Regions from separate parts of the Homo sapiens genome. Here region 2 is linked to region 1. Evidence: promoter capture Hi-C in 16 types of primary human blood cells and fetal thymus (Javierre and others, 2016). All regions are on one chromosome and are shown on one strand. Each heading gives the region's core, a stretch centred on a gene start or on the middle of the fragment in contact. The rest is flanking DNA. Distances are from core to core; before and after follow the strand shown.

Region 1 (5,077 bases), core at 1,465-3,964:
CTGCCAACCCCTGATTCCGATCAGCCCCTTTTAGGTCTCAAATTGCACCTTAGTTTTATCATGTAACCTCTGACCCCTCACCTTCACTCCTAACTGGTCCTTCCAGACTTAGAACTGACACTCTCAGACCCAACCCAAGAACCCCAACCTCTGACCTGGATTGACCCATTAACTTTGACCTCCAGCCCACTTTTGACTTTCACCATTTGGTACCTGGGGAAGCAGTGAGCAGCTGACAGCACCCACTGCTCAGACACGAGAGAGCCACCACACACATGGACGCCTTCATAGGTGATGCTGACCTGCCAGGGCCACTGACCGGCGACTGCACTGCTGCCACCTGTGATGCGTGCTTGGGGGGCCACACCGCAGGGAGCTGCCCAGGGAGGAAGGGAAGGGGTCAGGTTGTTAGCCTGGCCACTCCTATGCAGCCCAGGAGCTCTGATATAGAGCTTGGGAAGTGGGTTCACAGGAGTCAACACCCCTTTGTCCCCTCCCAGGCATGGGCAGTTGTGCCCCTTCTGTCCACTACCCATTACCTAATTCAGGTCTCATGGCAGCTTCTCTCCTTGCAAGCCTTCCATCCATCCCGCCCCTTACAAGTCTGAAGATTTTCATAAACCCCCAATCTGACCAGGCCACAGCCCTGCTTAAACCCTTCTTGGCTCCACGCGGTCCTTAAGATACATTCCAGACAGACCATGGCACCGCCATCGGACCCAGCCGTCCCCTCTGGACCCTTCAGTTGTGTACATCAGGCCACACACTTGTTTACCCGGGACCTTGGCTGATCCAGGTCACTCTACCTGGTATGCCCTTCCCCATCCTTACTGTCTGGCAAACTTCCCTTTGCCTGTGGATGCTTGATTGGAACAGCAGCCCCTCCGTAGACAGGCGGGCTTCTGCTGGCTGAGTTGGGCATTGCCTCCGAGCCCAGCACCCCCCAACCTCCACCATGCTCCCCGATGCTGCCCAGTCTCACAATTGTTCCGGAGTCCACAACTGTGTCTGTTTCCACCACACCAATCTGGGCATTCCCTAGGGGCAGATTCTCATGTCTGCAGTGCCTGTGGCGTCGTGGACATATATTCAACAAACCAACAGCAGAACTGGGCTCCTGTGATGTGAATGTCTAGTTTCCAGGACAGCCCCAGCCCCACCCCCATTGAGGCCACTTTGGAGTGGAGCCCAACTGCTCTTCACAAAGTCATCTAGGAGCAGAGAAAATTGCAGACCAGATCTTTCTCTCCCTTATCATCATGACAATAGCCACTATTTAGAGAGCCTAGCGGCTGTGCCAGGCCCTGGAGGGGCTTTCGCTTCCTCATCTCCCTGCATCCTCTCCACAGCCCCAGGAGACGGACATGACCAGCTTCATTTTAGAGGTGAGGAGTCTAAGGCTTAGAGAAGTGGGGGGACTTGGCCAATGACACACAGCCAGTGCATGGGGAAGCCAGGATTGAAAGCCGGTCTGACTCAGAGCTGGGTTGGGTGCCTTCCAAGAAAGGAGACCCTTGGTTTGGTTCCCTCAAAACCACCTCCAGGATGGGAACGGTGGCTCACACCTGTAATCCCAGCACTTTGAGAGGCCAAGGCAGGAGGATCGCTTGAGCCCAGGAGTTCAAGACCTGCCCGGCCAACATAGTGAGACCCACATCTCTACCAAACAAAAACAAAAACAAAAACAAAACACAACTAGCTGGGTGTGATGGCATGCACCTGTAGTCCCAGCCACTAGGGAGGCTGAGGTGGGGAGGTGGGAGGATCACGTGAGCCCGGGAGGCTGGATCACTGAGACTGCAGTGAGCTGCGATCGGGCCACTGCACTCCAGCCTGGGTGACGACAGACCCAGACCCTGTTTCAAAAGACAAAAACCAAACCAAAAAAACCACCTCGATTGCCCCACTTTGGGAGTCAGACGTGGATCTGAATCCCAGCTGCACCTTCACTGGCAGTGTGCCCTGGGCAAGTCCCTGCTTCTCTGCCCATAAGGTGAGGGCTAAAACCCCCCACTCTGGGAGCCCTAAGAGAATCTAGTTGGAAGGCAGCCCAGCTGAAGGCCAGGCACTGGTTAAACCCCAGGGGAATCCGATCCAAGTCACCTCCCCCTCCCCTCCTCCCTCTCCGAGGAAAGTCTCACCTTCTGCCCCTTCCGCTCCTAGAAAGAAAGAGAAAGAGGAGGGGTGAGTAGGGAAGACTCGGGTTCCCTGACCCCTTAGTACCCACCACTGCTCCAGAGGGCTGGCCCCTTCCCTGACAGAGCCAAGGTGGGAAAGAGAGGCCAAGAGCTAGGGAGGCCGGGGGTTTTCTTGGGCCCCAGACAAGGGCACACCCCAGAAAATGATCACGCCGGCTCCCTCCAGTGCATTGTCCCCACCCTGCCCCCACGTCCTCACTTACCTGTCCCCGACCGGAGTAATCCAAGATAGAGCAGAATGGCCACAGCCCCCAGCTGCCCAGGCCCCAGGACCCCCTTCTGGGCCATGGCCCAGGACAAGGGCCCCTGGGGCAGACTCCAGGCACGCAAGGTAGGAAGCCTTGGGGTGGTGTCGAAGGCAGGACCCAGATGTTGGCTCAGAGGGAAGGATCCCAGAATCCGGGCTGGAAAGGGGCAGCAAGTGTCCAAGGCTGGCCTCTAAGGCAGGGAGCGGCCGCAACGGGAGACGCCTGGAGTATCCGAAGCGAGCAGTGTGGACGAGTCACCAGCACCGTCTGGCCACGCAGGGTCCTCCCAGGAGTGGCTGCACCTACCTGCCCGCCCCTCCCCTGGCCCCGCCCACTGGCTGGGCTCCGCCAGCTCCTCTTGCCACCAAAGTCATGAGTCCTTTCAGAGCTGCAGGCCCGTGTGTGTGCATGTATGTGTCCGTGTGTATGTGTGTGCACATGCATAGGCCTTTTGTGTGTGTGTCCCGGTGTGTAGTGTGTATGTGGTGTGTGTGTATGCCTGTGTAGGCTGTGTGTGTCCTCTTATGTGGTGTGGTATGTGTGTGTGTGTGCATGTACAGGCTGTATGTGCACATGTGTAGGCTGTGTGTGTCCCTGTGTGTGTAGTGTGTGTGTCTGAGTGTGCGTGCATGCACGTGCATGTGGTTTGTGTGTGTGTGCAGTCTCCCTGGAATGTGACGACTCTCCTCCGCCTCAGGTCTTTCAGGTTATCTCAGGCCAGTTATGCCCCCCAGGGCCTGGCCCCAGCTTTTATTATCTGGAGCCACAGCCACTCCTCCCTTCTTCCCTCCCTCCTTAGGCTGGTTATGGGAGCTTAAGACACTATGGTCTGTCCCCTGCCAGGCCCTTTCTGCGATGCCTGCACCTCATGGGTGGTGGCGAGCTTGTGGAGCAGCACCAATCATCCCACAGACATTTCCTAAGTGCCTATGATGTTCCCAGGTGTCCAGGACAAAACAGGCACCAGCCCCGTCCCCCTTGAGCCCTGAGCTCATGGTGAAGTAGGGGTGACACACTTCAATCAAATAATCACAAACAGGCTGGCAAGGTGGCTAGTCGGCTTTGGGAGGCTGAGGCTGGAGCATCACTTGAAGCCAGGAGTTCCAGACCAGCCTGGGGAATATAGCGAGGCCTCATCTCTACAAAGAAATATAAAAATTAGGCAGGCATTGTGGCGCATGCCTATGGTTCCAGCTATTTGGGAGGCTGAGGCAGGAGGATTGCTTGAGCCCAGGAGTTCAACGAAGCATTGAGCTATGATCACGCCACTGCACTCCAGCCTGGGCAACAGAGGGAGACCCTGTCTTAAAAAAAAAAATTGCAATTACACAATAATTTCAAGCTAGGAATAGTGATGAAAAAGAATGGCGTGAGCACACCACAGCCTGGCAAAGGCTGGCATTGTGAAAGGGTCCTCGAGGAATTGCCTTGGAAACTGAGACCGAAAGGGATTATAAAAGGTGGTAAGGCGAAGATGGGGGGATGGGGTGCAGAGGGCAGAGGCTCAGGGAAAGAAGGCTTGCCGTGTGGCTGCGGTGGGAGTGAGGCATGTATCCTCCTTGAGGGCCACTCTGGCCGTTCAAAACACCTGTTGAGGCTGGGTGTGGTGGCTCACGCCTCTAATCTCGGCACTTTGGGAGGCCAAGGCACACGAATCACGAGGTCAGGAGTTTGAGACCATCCTGAACAACATGGTGAAACCCCATTTCTACTAAAAATACAAAAATTAGCCAGGCGTGGTAGCACGCACCTGTAATTCCAGCTACTCAGGAGGCTGAGGCAGGAGAATCGCTTGAACCCAGGAGGTGGAGGTTGCAGTGAGCCGAGATATTGCGCCATTGCACTCCAGCCTGAGCGACAGAGCGAGACTCCGTCTCAAAAAACAAACAAACAAAAAAAATTGTGGAGCTTGGATGTGGTGGCTCACACCTATAATCCCAGCACTTTGTGAGGCCAAGGTGGGAGGATCATTCTCAAGATCAGGAGTTTGAGACCAGCTTGGCCAACATGGTAAAACCCCGTCTCTCCTAAAAAATACAAAGAAAATTAGCCAGGCGTGGTGGCGCATACCTGTAATCTTAGCTACTCGGGAGGCTGAGGCAGGAGAATTGCTTGAACCTGGGAAGCCAAGATTGTGCCACTGCACTCCAGCCTGGGCAACAGAGGGAGACTCCATCTCAAAATAAATAAATAAATAAAATAAATAGGCCAGATGCAGTGGCTCACGCCTGTAAATCCCAGCACTTTGGGAGGCTGAGGTGGGCGGATCATCTGAGGTCAGGAGTTCAAGACCAGCCTGGCCAACATAGAGACACCCCACCTCTACTAAAAATACAAAAATTAGTTGGGCATGGTGGTGGGCACCTGTAATCCCAGCTTCTCAGGAGGCTGAGGCAGGAGAATTGCTTGAACCTGGGAGGTGAAGGTTGTAGTGAGCCGAGATTGCGCCATTGAACTCCAGTGTGGGCGACAATAGCAAAACTCTGTCTCAAAAAATTAAAAATAAATAAGTTAAATAAAAATACAAAAATTAGTCCGGCATGGTGTCTTGAGTCTGCAATCCTAGTTACTTGAGTCTGAGGCAGGAGGATCGCTTGAACCCAGGAGGTGGAGGTTGCAGTGAGCCGAGAT
Region 2 (4,702 bases), core at 828-3,327, 110 kb after region 1:
ACTGCAACCTCCGCCTTCTGGGTTCAAGTGATTCTCCTGCCTCAGCCTCCCGAGTAGCTGGGACTACAGGTGCTCGCCACCATGCCCGGCTAATTTTTGTATTTTTTAGTAGAGATGGGGTTTCACCATGTTGGCCAGGATGGTCTTGATCTCTTGATCTTGTGATCCGCCCGCCTTGGCGTCCCAAAGTGCTGGGATTACAGGCGTGAGCCACCGCACCCCGCCAGCATTCTTTGTCTTGTCCACAGCTGAAGTTTCCATTATTTATTTATTCAACCAAACTTCATCAAACTCCTTTTTAATGTAGCACATACCATGCTCAGTCTTAGGCGTATGCATTTGGATAATTCAAAATTGTTGCCTTCAAAAAGCTATAGTGAGAGAAATAACCTCATAAACAATAAGATCACAGTGTGAGGACTGCTAATAGAGCTGTGTGTAACAGAGCTTGGGGTTAAGCAGGAAAATTAGGGCAGGCTTCTCAGAAGAGGTGACAACTTGAGTTGGCCCTTGGAGAGCAAGTAGGAGTTTCTAAGGAAAACAAAAAGAAGCAGAAGGATGGTATTCCAGACACACCCAATAGTCAATTGTACTATTAGTTTGATGCAAACGTAATTGCGGTTTTGGCCATGACTTTAATTACTTTAGTTACATTTGCACCCACCTAATAATTATCTGAAACTGCATGACAAATGACCCTAAGCTTAGAGGCTTAAAACAACAGTAATCATTTCTTATCTCCCTTGATTTCTTTTCTTAAATTTAAAAAAATTTTTGGCCGGGTGCAGTGGCTCACATCTGTAATCCCAGCACCACAGTAGCAAAAATAGCTGCAGTGGTTCCAGGTTTTACATCACACTAGGAGGAGAAAAAACATCTTTGTCCTGAGATCCACTTTGATTAGACACATGCCCACACTTGAACCAACGACTTATGTCAGAGCGATAGAATAGTTGGATTGTCTTAGTGTAGTTCACATGCTCCACCCTCAGACCTGGGGCAAAGTCAGTTCTTCCCAAACCACGTAGTCCTCCAAGTGGAAATTGAGAGTCGCTGGGAAGGGGGAAACTGGATGCTGGGGAGATAACCACAAGTGTCCACACAAACTCAATTGTGATGTGGTTCATCTAAGCAACACTCAGTGAGCCCCAGCCAGATAAGGTGCTGGGTCCTGGGATAAAGCCATGAGCAGGACATAGTCACTGCTCTCAAGGCAGCCATTGTTTATCACCCCCCAAGAACGTAAGCTCCTTAAAGGTAGGGAGGTTTCCTCTCTCGTTCACATCCATTTCCCTGAGCCTGGAGCAGCACCTGGCACATAGTTAATACCTGTTGAATGAAGAGTCTAGTGGAAAGATGGGCATAATCTCCAAGTCATCACACCATATACAGTTTAATGCTAGCTCTAGGGACTTTGAGGGGCCAGGGTGTGTGATCCACCCTTTTACTTCTCCTCCTTTTTCTCTTCCTTCTGTTTGTGGCTCCCCCAGGGTGAGAGATTGAGAGGAAAGAATTGAAGGGATGGCAGGGGTTCCACATGACTGGTACCCATATGTGGTTGGAAATGCCCTGACTCTCTCTAGACTCCAAGCTGGGTCCATCTCTTGCTTGTGGTCCCCAGTAGCTGAAGTACAGCTGAGGTGTTCCTGGGGTTGCTATTTAGCTTAACCATGGCTCTCTCCTCTGCTGAGGAGCCCCTTGGAGTGAGAGATGCCTGCCTCCCCTCAGGGCTTTGCCTCCACCCTTTCTCCAACCTCTGTATTCCTTCATGTGGAACCAGGAAGCCCCCCTCTCCCTCAATTTCCCACTTTATTTAAGGCACATAAAACTTTTCTGGAGGAAAGCTCTTGTTGAATCTGCAGCCTCTCCCCAAACCCCAAGGCCTGTAAAGCTCTGAATAGAGAGGCCCTGAGCTGAATGTGACAGTAATGATACTTATATCAGGTCAAGGATGCCTAAGGACCATAGTTACTTTGTCAAATTGTACAAGATGTTTCATCCAGAGCGTGCTTAGAGTAATGATAATGATATGTGGCAGAGAGAGCTAGTTGCCCCCATGTGCTTTCCTCTTCTTCCTTTAGTAATGCAACCCCATTAATTAGCACACAGATACTTAGGATAACATCACATTTTCCAGTCACCACTGCAGTTGTGTGTGGCCATGTGACTAAGTCCTGGCCAATGAGATGTGAAGGAAATGATGTGTGCAACATTTGGTCTCACCTTTAAAGGAAAGGGGCCTTCCCACCATTTTTTTTCTTTGTTATGAGACAGAGTCTCACTCTGTCACCCAGGCTGGAGTGCAGTGGCATGCTCTTGGCTCACTGCAACCTCCACCTTCCAGGTTCAAGCGATTCTCCTGCCTCAGCCTCCCAAGGAGCTGGGACTATAAGCGCCCGCCACAATGGCTGGCTAATTTTTGTATTTTTAGTAAAGGCGGGGTTTCACCATGTTTGCCAGGCTGGTCTCGAACTCCTGACCTCATGTGAACCCACTTCGGCCTCCCAAAATGCTGGGATTACAGGTGTGAGCCACTGTGCCTGGCTTTTTTTTTTTTTGATACAGATTCTTGCTCTGTTACCCAGGCTGGAGTAAAGTGGTGCAATCTTGACTCACTGCAGCCTTGACCTCCCAGGCTCAGGTGATCCTCCCACCTAAGCCTCCCAAGTAGCAGGGACCACAGGCACATGCTACCATGCCCAGCTAATTTTTTTTTGTAATTTTTATAGAGACAAGGTTGTGTCATGTTGCTGCGCTGGTCTTGAACTCGTGGGCTCAAGTGATCTGCCTGCCTCGGCCTTCTAAAGTGCTGGGATTACAGACATAAGCCAACGTGCCTGGCCTCAATTTTTTTTTTTTTTTTTTTGAGACAAAGTCTCACTCTATTGCCCAGGATGGAGTACAGTGGCTTGAGCTCGGCTCACTGCAACCTCTGCCTCCTGAGTTCAAGCGATTCTCCTGCCTCAGTCTCCCAAGTTGCTGGGATTGCAGGCATGTGCCACCACACCCAGCTAATTTTTGTATTTTTAGTAGAGATGGGGTTTCACCATGTTGGTTAGGCTGGTCTTGAACTCCTGACCTCAGGTGATCCGCCTGCCTCGGCCTCCCAAAGTGCTGGGATTACAGGCGTGAGCCACCACTCCCTGCCAGGCACCACTTCTTTTTATCCTTCCTGTCAGCCCGAGGGTGGACTTGGCGCTGGGCCGTCTTTGACCAGGCGGATGAAGACAAAACCCTCAGGATGGCAGAGCAACCTGCTGGAGGGAGCCTGGATCTCCAACACCATGGAGCCTCCGTAACCCCCAAATGCTGATGCTGGGGCCATCACAGGACTGTCTGGGCTAAGCCTCTGTGATTTTGGGTCTTATTACAACAGTTGAACCTTAGTCTCCACCAATACAAATAATCATCTTTGCCGGTGGGGGCGCATCTTACATGCCAGGCACTGTGCTAAGCTTTTCACATGCATTATTTAATTTAACCCTTACAAAAACTCTGTTAAGTCACACATCAGTTAGGGCCTTTTGGGGAAAAACAACAGAACAAGTAGAACATGAGATTTACTGAGTACCAAGTAGCCTATTCCAGGAATTAGTAGTTTTGTTTCCTGCCCTGCTCAGGTTAGGCCCTGAGCAACTCCTCCTTTCAAGGTTGGGAGGCAAGAACTTAGAGATGGTGAAATGGCTGTCGCTGCCCTGCAAGTCACCTGTGGCCAACCATGCTCTTTGTGTGACCTTGGTCGAAACACCTGGGACTCACAAAGCCTGTGGTAGAACAATTTCCTTGGCCTGCCAGACATTTGGCCTGCTGCATGGACAACTGAGGTGGCAAGGGAAGCATCCAGAATGCTTCCCACTGAGCGACAGGCAGCTTTCAGCCACCTACCTCTGTGTGTCATCGAGGGTGCGCTGGCCAGGTCATCCATCAACCCAACACAGTTGGTAGAATGATTACAGCGAATGTTGACTACATGCACTTTGACATCTATTATTATCTCATTTAACTATCACAATCACCCCAAGATGTTAGTACAATTATTGCCCCCATTTTCCAGATGAGGACAGTGAGGTCCAGAGAGTAAGTTGTTCAAGGGCATACTTATAGACCTAGGATATTTTTATTCTTTTTTTTTTTTTTTCTGAGATGAGATCTTGCTCTGTTGCCCAGGCTGGAGGGCAGTGGTGTGATCTTGGCTCATTGCAATCTCCGCCTCCTGGGTTCAAGTGATTTTCTTGCCTCAGCCTCCTGAGTAGCTGGGATTACAGGCATGTGCCACCATTCCCGGCTAATTTTTGTATTTTTGGTAGAGACAGGGTTTCGCTATATTGTCCAGGCTGGTTTCAAACTTCTGACTTCAGGTGATCCACCTGCCTCAGCCTCCCAAAGTGCTGGGATTACAGGTGTGAGCCACCACACCCGGCGTAGACCTAGGATTTTAGTGCCCTTAGTCTGATTCCAGACCCAAAGGCTTAACCAGATGGCTGAGGATGACACTCAGGTGGAACTTTTTTTTCTTACTTTTTTTTTTTTTTAAGACAGGGTCTCGCTGTGTTGCCCAAGCTGGAGTGCGGTGGTGCAATCAGCTCACTGCAGCCTCAATCTCCTGGGCTCAAGTGATTCTCCCACCTCAGCCTCCTGGGTAGCTGGGGTTGTCTCACGTGTCCATGTGAAGAGACCACCAAACGGGCTTCGTGTGAGCAAC

What was found. The method cuts DNA at HindIII sites, captures the fragments that hold promoters and counts their contacts. A CHiCAGO score of 5 or more calls a contact.
Region 2: a contact is called between a fragment that was not itself captured here and the fragment with the promoter of PRSS8 in region 1, in 1 of 17 cell types (monocytes). The highest score is 7.7, in monocytes.

What each region holds. Positions count from the first base shown.
Region 1 is chr16:31,133,013-31,138,089 of GRCh38, forward strand. It overlaps PRSS8 (serine protease 8), which reads right to left and starts at 2,715. Exons shown (of 6, transcript NM_002773.5): 1 at 2,402-2,715; 2 at 2,142-2,159; 3 at 214-376. The coding sequence starts at 2,486. RefSeq lists an enhancer at 830-1,776. The HindIII fragment of the contact is 17,481 bases long and covers 1-5,077 here.
Region 2 is chr16:31,247,585-31,252,286 of GRCh38, forward strand. No RefSeq gene overlaps it. Among named protein-coding and RNA genes, the nearest start is that of ITGAM, 10 kb to the right of the region's middle. The HindIII fragment of the contact is 2,752 bases long and covers 702-3,453 here.